4 separate regions of the Homo sapiens genome follow, and regions 2, 3 and 4 are each linked to region 1. The links are contacts of gene promoters, found by promoter capture Hi-C in human tissues and cell types (Jung and others, 2019). All regions are on one chromosome and are shown on one strand. The core of a region is centred on a gene start or on the middle of the fragment in contact, and the rest is flanking DNA. Distances in the headings are between cores, read along the strand shown.

The links. The method cuts DNA at HindIII sites, captures the fragments that hold promoters and counts their contacts. A contact is called where the count stands out against the background at its distance.
Region 2: a fragment that was not itself captured here is called in contact with the fragment with the promoter of ATF4 in region 1 in 1 of the 25 tissues and cell types used here (lymphoblastoid cells).
Region 3: a fragment that was not itself captured here is called in contact with the fragment with the promoter of ATF4 in region 1 in 1 of the 25 tissues and cell types used here (lymphoblastoid cells).
Region 4: the fragment with the promoter of DNAL4 here is called in contact with the fragment with the promoter of ATF4 in region 1 in 1 of the 25 tissues and cell types used here (spleen).

What each region holds. Positions count from the first base shown.
Region 1 is chr22:39,518,991-39,522,597 of GRCh38, reverse strand. ATF4 (activating transcription factor 4) reads right to left here and starts at 2,036. Exons shown (of 3, transcript NM_182810.3): 1 at 1,847-2,036; 2 at 927-1,244; 3 at 1-825. The coding sequence starts at 1,152. RefSeq lists enhancers at 1,559-1,608, 1,969-2,118 and a silencer at 2,499-2,698. The HindIII fragment of the contact is 4,198 bases long and covers 655-3,607 here.
Region 2 is chr22:40,122,681-40,126,113 of GRCh38, reverse strand. It overlaps a transcript of TNRC6B not described here. Among named protein-coding and RNA genes, the nearest start is that of TNRC6B, 54 kb to the left of the region's middle. The HindIII fragment of the contact is 5,757 bases long and covers 1-3,433 here.
Region 3 is chr22:40,433,849-40,437,113 of GRCh38, reverse strand. It overlaps MRTFA (myocardin related transcription factor A), which reads left to right. Exons shown (of 15, transcript NM_020831.6): 5 at 1,560-1,615. Among named protein-coding and RNA genes, the nearest start is that of SGSM3, 65 kb to the right of the region's middle. RefSeq lists enhancers at 84-133, 204-253, 374-503, 764-823. The HindIII fragment of the contact is 3,423 bases long and covers 1-3,265 here.
Region 4 is chr22:38,792,525-38,796,006 of GRCh38, reverse strand. DNAL4 (dynein axonemal light chain 4) reads left to right here and starts at 1,864. Exons shown (of 4, transcript NM_005740.3): 1 at 1,864-1,939. RefSeq lists a silencer at 1,673-2,122. The HindIII fragment of the contact is 13,707 bases long and covers 1-3,482 here.

The sequences.
Region 1 (3,607 bases), core at 787-3,286:
GGACCCTTTTCTTCCCCCTTGCCTTGCGGACCTCTTCTATCAAATCTTTCAGGTACTGGATCTCCTTGGCCAGGGAATCCGCCCTCTCTTTTAGAGCCTCGTTCTTCTTTTCCAGCTCTTTGCACTCACCAGTAAGAGCCTCCTGCTCCGCCCTCTTCTTCTGGCGGTACCTAGTGGCTGCTGTCTTGTTTTGCTCCATTTTTTTCAGCTTCTTATCCAGTTTCTCACCCTTTACTTTTGCTGCTACCATCTTCTCTCCAGGAGGATCGTAAGGTTTGGGACGGGCAGACCCACAGAGAACACCTGGAGATGGGAGGCTCCTATTTGGAGAGCCCCTGGTAGAGGGGCTGTGCTGAGGAGACCCCAGATAGGACTCTGGGCTCATACAGATGCCACTATCATTATCTGAAGGGGTGTCTTCCTCCTTTATGCACTGAGGGATCATGGCAACGTAAGCAGTGTAGTCTGGCTTCCTATCTCCTTCAGTGATATCCACTTCACTGCCCAGCTCTAAACTAAAGGAATGATCTGGAGTGGAGGACAGGACCCCTGGGGAAAGGGGAAGAGGTTGTAAGAAGGTGAAGGGGGCAACCTGGTCGGGTTTTGTTAAACTTTCTGGGAGATGGCCAATTGGGTTCACCGTCTGGGGGGGCTGCTTATTAGTCTCCTGGACTAGGGGGGCAAAGAGATCACAAGTGTCATCCAACGTGGTCAGAAGGTCATCTGGCATGGTTTCCAGGTCATCTATACCCAACAGGGCATCCAAGTCGAACTCCTTCAAATCCATTTTCTCCAACATCCAATCTGTCCCGGAGAAGGCATCCTCTGCAAAACATTTGAGTGATGGGGCCAAGTGAGTCAGATACAAAGGTAGGAGGCCCCTAACCCTAGATCCCACCAGGACGATGTGGTGGTGGCCCACTCACCCTTGCTGTTGTTGGAGGGACTGACCAACCCATCCACAGCCAGCCATTCGGAGGAGCCCGCCTTAGCCTTGTCGCTGGAGAACCCATGAGGTTTGAAGTGCTTGGCCACCTCCAGGTAATCATCTAAGAGACCTAGGCTTTCTTCAGCCCCCAAACCCGACTGGTCGAAGGGGGACATCAAGTCCCCCACCAACACCTCGCTGCTCAGGAAGCTCATTTCGGTCATGTTGCGGTGCTTTGCTGGAATCGAGGAATGTGCTTAATTCGAAGGTGTCTTTGTCGGTTACAGCAACGCTGCTGCTGAATGCCGTGAGAAGCCTGAATGAGAATCAGAAGCCAACTCCCATTAGAGGTTAGCTGTTCTGAGAATTTCATCCTTCCACTTATGAGGCGGGACTTCTCTAGATCGGCCATCTAGAGAATCGGGAACAGGGCAGTTGTATTTGCCCCTCCCTGCTTGCAACTCAGGTTCCACAAAATGGACGCTCACGGAGACCAGGGGATTCTTCCACCGGCCGCCAAGAGGAAAGCGCTCCGTCCCCACGTCCAAATACGGCCAGGGCGGCCGCGCCCCGCCCACCGCCCGCCCTTGACTCACGCCCGCGCCGCCGCCCTGCCGCCGCCATCTTGGTTCCTGCCACGTTTCGTGGGGCAACAGCCAAGACCCCTGGGACCCTTGCGGGGCTCGGGGTCCGAGGGCTGTAGGGCTCCTGGGGAAGCAGTCCGGGCACCCGACTACGCTTTCCCGATCCCAGGCACGCGAGCGTCTCGGGGACACCCAAGCAAAGACCACGCGTCCCGGGCGCTCGTTAAATCGCTTCCCCCTTGGCGGCACCGCCCTGGCCCCAGGCCGCACCCCACCAATCCAAAACCCGCGCCGGCCCCAGGAGCACAGCTGGACGACCCGCCCCGGTACTCACGCCATGGCTTAAGCCGCTGGGGGTTGCCGCTGCAGAGCCTGGTGCTGCTGCCGCCGCTGCAAAGGCCAATGCTGCCGCAGGCACTGCTGCCCCTAATACGCCATGGTGGCCGTGGACCCTGAGGGCGGGGAGGAGGGAAAACGCACACGCGCAGAGAAAACTACATCTGTGGGCGGGCAAAGTAGAAATGGCTGCCGTGGCCGCCCGCCGGCCCTTTATAGACTTCGTCTCTATGGGGACGCAGCACAGACGCATCCTTCCGCCGCGACCACGTGACCGTCTCCTCCCGCCCGCTCCCTTCCCTCCCTCCCTTTGACGCCCCAACCGTTTATGCCCAGGGCGTAGCTGTGACGAGAAAAGGAGTTTGTTCTTATGGCCTCACGAAAGGAGAGAGGTGTACTACTTTACTAGGCTTCTATGATCAGAGTCCGTTCTTTCCTTCGCCGCCGGAGCGCGGAGTGATCTCCCAGACACGCCTCGCTTCCGGTGTCAGCGCAGTGGGCGGGGAAAGGTCGTTTTCCGGCGAAGAGTTTTTATTGTGAAGGCCGAGGACGCCAGGTTATCGCGCGAGGTGCTGGCGAAGAGCGCGCGTCAAGGTGATTGGCCCAGGCCCGGTGAATCATATATATCTCGAGCTCTTATTGGCTCAGGGCCCTAGATGGGCGGCTGCTGGGAGAGGGATCCCGGGGTCCGCGTGGGAAGGGTTGGGGTCTCGGGTCGCTGCTAGTCCTCAGCCAGCCCCGCCTGCTGGCCCGCCACGATCGCGCTGGCTCCTGCCCCCAGGCGGCCTTAGCCCAGCGCACCCCTTAGTGGCCTCAGGGACCAGCCCTTGCGGTCGGATCCCGCCGCCCTCAGTGGAGGTCCGCACTGGTGGCCCCGCCGCCGCTCCCAGCCTGCGCGTCCTTCGGTTGCGGGTGGTGATTTGTGGCCTGCGGAAACCGGGGGGTTACCTGTTCCAAGCCTGAGTTTTCCAGAGGCCCCATTCATAGCCGACACGGCGCTGCTGCCCCCGGGAGGTTGAAGGGGCCTCGAGAGGGCGCGCCGGGCCTGTCCACCTACCCCCAAAGGCCGGCTGAGTCTGCATGGCTCCTCCTAAACTCTGGAAAGGAGCCGGGAAGACGCGCCGTCCTGTCGCCCAACCTGGGTTTTTACAATTTTCATCCGGCTCAAGTGCAAGGCTGCCACAGAATAGCATCATAGAGGAACTTCTGGTGTCCGAAGATTGCGTTCTCCTAAGAACAAGATTTTCTTCGCTGCCGTCTCCCTGGGGTAGTTCGGATTCACTCCGGATTCTGAACTCCCCGGCCTAACCCGCTTTTCAGCAGTCACGCCCATGGCCCAGGGAGGAGAGGCGCTTGGGAACCCACGGCCACTTACTGGGGGTTGTGCGTTGGGAAGGGGTAGTCTGTTTTAAGAATACAAGAAACCTCCCCATCATCCTTCAGCCCCTTCCAGTCAGGCCCTGTGAAGGTGGAAACTTTGAGTTTCCGCCTCCATTTCACTGGGCCACACAAGTATGAGCGCTGTGATATCAAACAACCAGGGAAGCACTGCTCTAAATAACCACAGGCCATCTGCTGCGCTCATTCAACCTCGCCCACAAATCCTTTCCAATGGTAAACCGAGGCCCAATGGGATGAAGCTTCTTGCTCAAAGTCACAAGGCTCCCAGTGGAGGGAGTATGGGGTAGGAGTTAGAAGACAGATTTTGGGGAGCGCATCCAAAAGAATCCTGGCTGGGACATTTTGGCTAAATGACTTA
Region 2 (3,433 bases), core at 739-3,238, 600 kb before region 1:
TTAAAAGACATAGTATTAGTGTTCTAAAAATAAATTATAAAGTTCTCTGTAGTTCAGTAAAATTGTTTTAAATTAGCATATAGGATTAAAAAGTATACTGAAAAGAAAAAATATTTCTCAATCTTATGTTAGGTTCTAATTTAACTCAATCGAATTTTTACAGTCATGTAAAATGAAATACCCATTCTACTCATCCACAGCCTCTACTGTTCAATTTCTACCCAAACTGTACCTTTCAGTAATTTACTGACCTTGGAACTGCTTTCTTCCGATACTTCTCCCTCATTGGTTTGCATGGGAACAGATTTTGTGCAAAACTCTGCAGAAACACAAAAATACTGCCTAAAAGAAGAGAGAAGAAAAAAGTATGTAAGGAATTCAGGGCAAAAAAATTTTTTTTTCAAAGGTTTAGACTGAAATTCTCTCAATAAGGCCACAGATACTGTGAAGTAACTTTGAGTAACTTTGTGTGTGTGTGTGTGTCTATGCACATGCATCTTAAAGGTAAGAAAGGGAGGGAGAGAAGCAGGGAGGGAATGTTTCCCATCTTGGGGGAGAAGGGTAGATAGGAAAGGTTTCCAGCATTGGGATATTAATAGCTCTAGATTTCTTTCCCTATTTTATTTGGCTTTTGGCAGAGGTGGTGGTGAAATTCTTACAGCAGACACTGACCTGCAAGAAAGTATGGCAGTGAGCAAAGCGGCGCACCTGTTGTTCCGCCCCTGCAGGTCACAGTGCCTGGGTATTAGGCTAAGGCTATTGGAATTGGCAGGGTTTCCCGGGCTTATAATTTATGAATAACGTTCCTGCTTTCTTTATAACTGAAATTAAAGTACACTATAATGGCTGGCCCCACTTTTCATTTTTAGGAAATGTGCTTAATAAACTAAATGTCAGTTCATTTATTTTTATATGAGACTATTTATAGGGCAAGACAGTAAAAAGTAATTAAGTTTTCCTCAAAGAATAAAATGAGTCAAGAAAAAGTTTGTTAAAATTTTATGAATTAAAATGTACCAAAAGGAAACTACTAAAAATTTATGCAACATTTTCAAGAATTCATTACATATGTAATTATTGAGGAATATTTTTTTTTTTTTTGAGACACAGTCTTGCTGTGTCGCCCAGGCTGCAGTGCAGTGGTGAGAGTTTGGCTCACTGCAACCTCCACCTCCTGGGTTCAAGCGATGCTCCTGCCTCAGTCTCCCAAGTAGCTGGGACTACAGGCGCCTGCCACCACACCCGGCCGATTTTTGTATTTTTAGTAGAGACAGGGTTTCACTATGTTGGATAGACTGGTCTTGAACTCCTGACCTCGTGATCCGACCGCCTCAGACTCCCAAAGTGCTGGGATTACAGGCGTGAGCCACCGCTCCTGGCCCTATTGAGGAATAATTATTCAAATGACACAAATCTCCATTATAATACAGGTATGAATATTTACAAACCTATCAGCTACTCTAAAGCTCATAGCTACAAAACATAAAAACTAAAAAAGGCCAGGTGCAGTGGCTCATGCCTATAATCCCAGCAATTTGGGAGGCTGAGGCAGGTGGATGGCTTGAGCTAACGCGTTCAAGACCAGCCTGGGGGCGAAACCCCACCTCTACCCAAAATACAAAAATTAGCCAGGCGTGGTGACACATGTATGTGGGCCCAGCTACTTGAGAGGCTGAGGTGGGAGGACTGGTTGAGTCCAGGAGGTCAAGGCTGCAGTGAGCTGTGATCACACCACTGCACTCCAGCCTTGGCAACAGAGTGAGACCCTGTCTCAAAAAAAAAAAAAAAAAAAGGTAAAAAGATGCTGGTAGTGTATGTTTTTTGTGTGTGCAAGAAAAATCTATTAATGCACAACGCTTGATGATCTGTTTTGGTGTAGGCTTCTCTATAACCAGCCAAGACTCAAGGCTAAGAAGGCACTTCCAGGAAGCTGTTGCCTCATCTACTGGGTGGGAAGGGGTTACCAAAATATCTACTTTGCTCACCCACCTAGCAAGGTCTTGTTGGGAACAAATGCATATTTATGTGATGTGAAGTGTAAAATCAGTACAGTAGAAGCTCTCAATTGATATCCATTCACTTGCTCCCAGCTTAATCAACATTGCCCATCCTCTCTGTAAAACACATGAGGGATGCTCACAGCAAGTGAAAATAGGCTTTCTCTAGTTGATTTTGTCCCTCACCTATTTATCACAGTTGTGCAAAAAAAAAAAAAAAAAGTTCTCTTTCTATAAAAATTAGGTTGATAGCATTGGAAAAACTCAATAACTTATCCAGAAAGATTTTATGTGTAATTTGCTTCACAGATGTCTTTAAGTTCTCCTACTTCACTGAAACAGAGACTGCATTTCTCTGTTTCATTATAGGCATAGCTGAACCAGATGATGCATTATAGGCATAGCTGAACCAGAAAAACTCCTTGGAACTCCATTCATGCTTGCAGGCCTGTGCTCAGCACACTCCTTGGTCTGGTGCTGTACTGTCTGCTTCCTCCAGACCCACGCTCCATTCTCCGCCTAACTGTGTGCCCCAGGGGACACCATCATTGGGCTCCTTATCTTCTGGCTGCTGGCTGGGCTAAGCCAGTGGGAGGCACTGACTGGAGACAGGAGGTCGGGAGAGGAAGAAGGGATGGCAGTGGTTGTTTCTTCTATGAAAGGGCACTGCTCTCAACTTGCTGGCTTCTCCTTCAGCTTTAATCTTTTTACTTTCATCCTTTCTGGATTCTCCTATTTGGCTGTTCTATTTTTCTTAAGTCTCTTTCTAGCTTGACTTGCCTGGCTAAATTAGTTTTTTCCTTCTCTGACAATCACTGCTATTTCCCGTTACCGACTCCTCCTCCCTATCCCCCAACACTGCACACTGTCATCTCTCCTCCCCCATGCTATCACCCTCTACCCAAGGCTTTAACCAAGACTTCTGCCCCTCCACTCACTTCTTAAAATCCATCGTGTCCCAATAAGATCCTACCAAGGCCCAAGTCTTACCTTCTCTACTACTACAGCCCTCAGTTTTCCAACATGTTAGAATGGAAATAGGGAAACCAACAAAGGCTACTGAACCACCCAGTGGCTGACAACAATTGGGAACCTTACTATTGCTAGACCTGAAGCGGAAGGGGCAGTGACTGGAACCTGGAGGGGGAGCTGTGGCCGTCACTGAAGAGTCCAACAGACCCGAATGCTTACGGATGTGTGACCTTGAGGGAATTTACTCAATTTGTCTCAGTCTCAGCTTCCCTACCAAAACTTGGGAATAGTAGTTATTCTGAGGATTCACTGACAATGTATTTGCACTTGATACATAATAGGTACTTAATAAGTACATGGAGATGACCAACTCACAAGACATTCTCTACTCTGAATTCTTATTCTTTCAGGGTCCGATCCCCAGTGATCTCCATTTCCCTTTGGACATGCTGTGAAAGGGGAAT
Region 3 (3,265 bases), core at 416-2,915, 910 kb before region 1:
TTAAATCTAGAGCTCCCCCTTCTGTTAGAAGATGGGATCTCAGTAGTACTTTTAAGACTGTAGTTTCTTTTTTATCTTAAGATTCACAAAAAATTTTTAAAAATAAATACCACTGGGACAATTGAAGCTTTCTTCTGGGACTGCTGTTGCTGAGGCCCAGCCCCCCGCTGGGGGTGGAGAGGAAGGAGGAAGAAGCACAACGGCCCAGGCAGGATAGGGTCCTATCTATGCTCTCTTGCTACTTTTAGCAGCTCCTTAACCCTGCACTCCTACCGCAGCCAGCAGCCTAGCAAAAGTTATCTCTGCTCGCAGTTTCACAGCTCTTTGGAAATTCTAGGGCAGGAGAAGTGAAACTGACCACAGTCTTATAAATTTCTCTCTTATTGCCTCTGTTCCCTACTTGAAGTGAGTCAGGCCTTTCCCTCTCATCCTCAGAGTGTCTTAAGTTGCTATTTGTCCTTACAGCCAAGTTTTTGACAAAAGGAGTCAGACCTTCCATTCATGGTGCAGCCTTTCTGGAGGCTCTTGGTTTGGTCTTGCCACCTGAGTGTTGTTTGCAGAAGTCGAGACTTGTGGTCTTTGTGTGGTATCCCCAGAATAGAGCTGAGCCCTTCGTCTCAGCTGTCGGTTGTGTGTGTTCCTTCACATACAATTGCCATGGGGTTCTTTTAGTCCTTAGAGATGAAATTCAAGTTAATTTTAGCAGCACTATAAATAACAGGTGCAGTGAAGAAGGAAATAGTGCCGAGTGGACATATATCTTTTTGGTTTTAACTGTCCCATTGAAACAGTTTGGCCACTTTATGATTCCTCGTGAGGTTGAGGAAGTAAGGTTAATTTGGCATGCATCTGTGCCCCTTCCTGTGTGCAGGTGTCCTGAGAATAATGTGAGGCCTAGCAGGCGTTCTTGGAGTCCTAGCTGAAGGGGGATTTGCGGCTGACGGTCCAGTCATGGGCCAGGGTGTTTGTTAAAGTTACATTCCATGGGTGCACTTTATATAGCCCAAGCTTAGGCAGTGACAGTTCCCATTAGGAGTCATATTTTGGTTTCTACCAAAACTGTTTGAATGGGGTAGCTAAACCATAAAGATACATGCTTACTCAGGTGTCATTGCCTTCACTTCAACTGATATTTATAGTACTACTAACAGTAATGTGATTTTTTTTTTTTTTTTTTGGGGGACGGTTTCTCGCTCTGTTGCCCAGGCTAGAGTGCAGTGGCGCAATCTCGGCTTACTGCAAGCTCTGCCTCCCAGGTTCACGCCATTCTCCTGCCTCAGCCTCCCTTGTAGCTGGGACTTCAGGCGCCCACCACCACCACGCCTGGCTAATTTTTTGTATTTTTAGTAGAGACAGGGTTTCACCATGTTAGCCAGGATGGTCTCGATCTCCTGACCTCGTGATCTGCCTGCCTCAGCCTCCCAAAGTGTTGGGATTACAGGCGTGAGCCACCACGCCCAGCCAGTAACATGAATTTAAGATGCCTTCTCCACTGAATATCGTAGCACTAGACATGATGCTTCGCTTGAAGGTAATCTTTACGGTTCTTCTCTCAACAGCTTTGAAAAGTCCAGCCGCATTTCATGAGCAGAGAAGGAGCTTGGAGCGGGCCAGGGTAAGGTACCTTTTTTCCCCCTCAGAACTCCCAAAGAGCATTTTCAGAGCTCATTGCATTGCTGGTTATATTTCCATTTAGAGCTTTCCATAGAACTCTGAGGCCAGAGCCTGCTAGACTCTAGGGCCAGCCCTGGCCTTGTGGTTTTAAATGGAAAGCTCTGCTTCTCCTACTTCATCCCTTCTCTCATTTACCTCCCATGGTGATTATATGGAACATGATTGGAATGAGGTTTCTCTTTTTGTACATTTAAGGATATGGAATGATCACCCGATCCTCCTTGCCTGAATTTTGGAGTGCTTTGGAGACCACTGGTATTTCCCCATCTTTAATTCCACTTAACGTTTTGTAGATGTTGGGACACAAACATTAGCCAATGGAAAAGCTTCCCAAGTCCGGGGTTACACTGGCCACACCTCACAGGACGGGCATTCCAAGGGGCAGGAAACCTTCTTGGTCTCCATCTGCCCAGAGTAGGTGGTATCCACTTGACTCTTGTGGAAAGCAGAAACTGGCCCACACTCCAAGCCCAAGTTTTCTGCCACAGCACCTTACTTGCGTCCCCATCCCAACTCTGTTTCGGTTCCCCAGGGGCCCCTGAGGAATATTCTGCTGCCCAGTGTGGGTAGAGATGGGGAAGTCACCAGAACTTGCTTCCCCCTCACACTCCCTTTACTTTTTCCTTTCACATAAAATCATGGGAAGATAATCCCCCTAGACAGATCATGGGCTGCATCTCCTTAAGACCCACGGCTATTTTATTTTACTTTATTTTTTGAGACGGAGTCTCACTCTGTCACCCAGGCTGGAGTGCAGTGGCGTGATCTCAGTTCACCGCAGCCTCCGCCTACCAGATTCAAGCGATTCTCCTGCCTCAGCCTCCCAAGTAACTGGACCTACAGGCTCCCGCCACCACGCCTGGGTAATTTTTGTATTTTTAGTAGAGATGGGGTTTCACCATGTTGGCCAGCCTGGTCTCAAACTCTTGGCCTCAAGTGATCTGCCTGCCTTGCCCTTCCAAAGTCCTGGGATTACAGGCATGAGCCACCACACCCAGCCTCACAGCTATTTTAGAGTCTCAGAAATATTTACCTCCAAGACTTTTTTTTTTTTTTTTTAAACTTTCTTTCATTCCCCTCTCCCCAGAAAATCATGATTAATTCTTAGAGTAAGTGGAAAGAATGAGGTCATGGGTCCTGGGAACCAAAGGAGTAACAAGCAGCAGTGGTTTAGTTTGCTGAGAGCACTGGAGAGTACAGTGTTGGGGGAAAGGATGGCGTTGCCTGTGCGCCTATTCGGTCAGAAGACTGGGCACCATTTACTTGACTGCTTCTCAAATAGGCAGGGACCAGCAGAGCTGATTAGAAGAGACTGTTTTATTGAGCACCTTTATGTAAGAGGTTGTATCTGTTTCTTTTTTATCCTCACATCAACTCTTATGAATTAGGTGGTATTATCCTCATTTTATAGATGCAGCTAAGAGAAGTTAACTCACTTGTCCAGCCAATAAGTGGCAAAGCTGGGAGTCAAACCTTTGTGGATTCTAGATTTTTTTTGAGCAAAATGATTTTATTTCCTAACACATGGTAACCATAACGTTCAATTTGCTTACCATGCACATCTATTCACAAATGACTTCCACATTACAAT
Region 4 (3,482 bases), core at 615-3,114, 730 kb after region 1:
CTGTGCGGGAGAGGGGAGTTTTATTATTACTCAAATTACTCAAACAGAGGAATGCAGCGGTGAGATTTGGGTTTTGGCAGGGTCATGTTGACTATGGTACAGAGGATAAATTAGAGAGGTGCAAGACTGCAGCCAGGGAGTCCCACCAGGAGATTGCACTCAGGTAGATGGGATTGTGGTGTTGTGCACATGGAGGGTGCCATGAACGTGGCCAGAAAGGCTGTATCAGGAAATAGTGAGGAGTCGAAATTGGCATGCTTGTGACTGGAAGTGGGCTGTTGTAGTGGGAAGGGTGAAGGACTCCCCCCTGTTTTCTGATGGAGGCAACTGGGTCGGGGGTGGTGCCATTTACTGGAATGGGGAATGCAGGAAGAGCAGATTGGAGGGAGATGATCAATTCAGTTTGGGACACACTGAGTTTGAAGGGCTTGTGGAACATTCTGGTGCACATGGCTAGGAGGCAGTTGAATATGCTACCCAAGCATTCAGGGATCAGAGGTTTTAAAGATAATTTTGTGGGTAGGGGCTTGGCAAGCGAGGAGTGTTGATTGATTAAGTCGAAGATGGAATACTGAGGGGGTCGAAGTGAGGTTTTCTTGCTGTCTTCTGTTCCTGGGTGGGATCACAGAACTGTTTGAGCCACATTACTGGTCTGGGTGGTGTCAGCTGATCCATCGAGCGCAGGGTCTGCAAAATATCTCAAGCGCTGATCTTAGGTTTTACAATAGTGATGTTATCCCCAGGAGCAATTTGGGAAGGTTCAGACTCTTGCAGCCAGAGGCTGCTGTGTGACCCCTAAACCATAATTTCTAATGTTGTAGCTAATTTGTTAGTCCTACAAAGGCAGACTGGTCCCAAGGCAGGAAGGGAGCCTTTTTGGGAAAGGGCTATTGTCAATTTTGTTTCAGAGTAAAACTATAAACTAAATTCCTTCCCAAGGTTCGTTCAGCCTATGCCTAGGAATGAACAAAGACAGCTTAAAGGCTAGAAAGGCAAGATGGAGTGGGTTAGGTCTGATCTCTTTCACTGTCATAATTTCCTCAGTTATAATTTTGGCAAAGACAGCTTCAATGCTAGTAAATGTGGCAGTGGGGTTTCACCCCAAGTACTCATCACAATAATAAAGGTTTAAACTACGAAGTACCCAACTGACCCTTTGATCTACCAATCAAATAATAGAATCCGCCAGTTCTTCCCCTTTCCCCTTTTCCTTCTCCGTACTTTCGGATTAATTTTCCCTCCCAAGGGGAAGAAAAGGCAGGCTCTGGGCAACTGTGTCTGAAATTAGGTGGTACAAATGTCTCCTAGTGACTAGAGCTAGGTGACCATACAAGGGTGTGGCACAGAGGAAGGAGCCCCTGGGTTCCTTCTCCAGGGAGATTACCTCCATCCTTTACCAAGTTACTTAACCTCTCTGAACTTTAGTTCAGATGGGATGACGAATATTATCACCTAAAAGTACTGTAATGAGAATCAAGTGAGATATTAATTGTACAGCCCTACAAAAATGCTAGTTATTATCAGGCTTTTCAGATCCCAATAAAGTAGTGGCTAAGTGTCACGACACCAACAAGTTGCATTTGTTATTTCAAGTGACTAAAAGAACCTCCCAAGGCAGTACTGCTTTTCGAAGTTTGTTTCCCTAGAAAAAGAACTTCAATGTGTCCCCTGCTCCTCGGGCACGCTTAAGACAACTATAAGTGAAGTCCCGCCTCCCTGGCCTCTAAACCACGCCCCTGTCCTTGCAAACGCCTGACTTATAAGGGCCTTTCACTCTGATTGATACTTTTATCCACCAATAATAAGTGAAATTCTCGTCAACGTCCGGTGAGGGGGCAGGACTTCCTTGCTGGTTGCTAAGACACTCTTGTTTCGCTCCTTGACAACCCTGGCGGGGGTTCGCTGGCTGCGGCCCCGGCTCCGGCCCCCGCAGGAGCAGGTGAGGCCCCGGGGCGCGGCGGGCAGCCAGGCGGGGAGGGCCGGCCCGGAGGGAGGGCGGGAGGCAACGCAGGGCGGAAGAGGCCTCGCCCGCCGCCGAGGCCCCACCTCGGTCTCCTGCCTGCTGTTCCCCTGCCCCAGGTCTTCCCATCCTCAACCCCCACCCTCACCCCCACTTCGGGACCTGCGAGCTCTGTCGTGACAGGTTTGCCATCGCGACTCTGCCGGCTGCTCTTCCCCACCCACCCAAGGCCTGCCCAGCTTCGTGGTCCCGCGTCCCCCTTTAGCCGACTTCCCCCAGCACCTTGATCCCTCGACCTTTCGCGGAGTAATTCCCTCTCCCGCGGGGTCGCCATCAACTAGGTCAGACCGCTCTTGGCTTGGAGAGTTGGCGACTTACTGGGATTCTGGGCTGGTCATTTCCCCTGTTTGGGCCTCAGTTTCCCCATCTGTAAATGAGAAGTTGAGTTGAGTGATCTCTAAGGCCTCTTCCACTCTGACGTTCTAGGATGTCGTTGTTCTTTGACCCAACTTTAGGCTTCCGAGAGGATGTGCTCCCCAATGGGAGGTATCGTGTATTGTGAAAATAACTTGGCAAACCTAATTTGGATTCCCAGTCTCAAGACCTACCCTCCCTGCGCTTTTAATCAGTGCATATGTAAAATCAGTATACGTCGGTGCATCTCCTTTGGTAATTCTGAGGCTAATATGAAGTACAGAGTCCAGTCCAGTATAGATTCAGTATTTGTTAGTTTCTTTCCTTTGTCTCTTCACCACATTTTCCCTCTCTGGGAAATGTTATCAACCCGGTCAGCATGAACTGTCATTTCTCCAGTTGACCCTCTCTGATCTTCCTCCTGGGCTTCCATGGTTAGGGTTACTTAGGGGTGGGGAGGGGACAGATGGAGATTGAAATACAGTCATGTACCATATAACAACGTTTTGGTCAAGAAAGACCACAGATACCACGGTGGTGCCCTAAGGTTATAATGGAGCTGACAAATTTCTATCACCTAGTTACATAGCTATCGTAATGTCAAAGCAAAATGCATGACTCACGTGTGTGGTGATGCTGGTGTAAGCAAACCTACAGTGCTGCCAGTCATATAAAATATAGCACATACAATTGTGTACAGGACATCATACTTGATAATGGTAATAAATGACTGTTACTTGTTTATGTGTTTACTATCCTACACTTTTATTGTTATTTTACAGTGTACACTCCTCCTACTTATAAGAAAATAAAATTTAACCGTAAACAGTCTTAGATAGGTCCTTCAGGAGGTATTCAAGCAAAAGGCTTTGTTATCATAGGAGATGACAGCTCCATGCGTGTTATTGCCCTGAAGACCGTCCAGCGGGACAAGATGTGGTAGTGGAAGATAGTGACACTAAGCATCCTGACCCTGTGTAGGCTTAGGCTAGTGTATCTGTGTCTGAGTTTTAACAAAAAAGTTAAAAATGTTAAAAATAAAAAATAAAGGCCAGGAGCGGTGGCTCACGCCTATTAATCCCAGCACTTCGGGAGGCCGACACAGGCA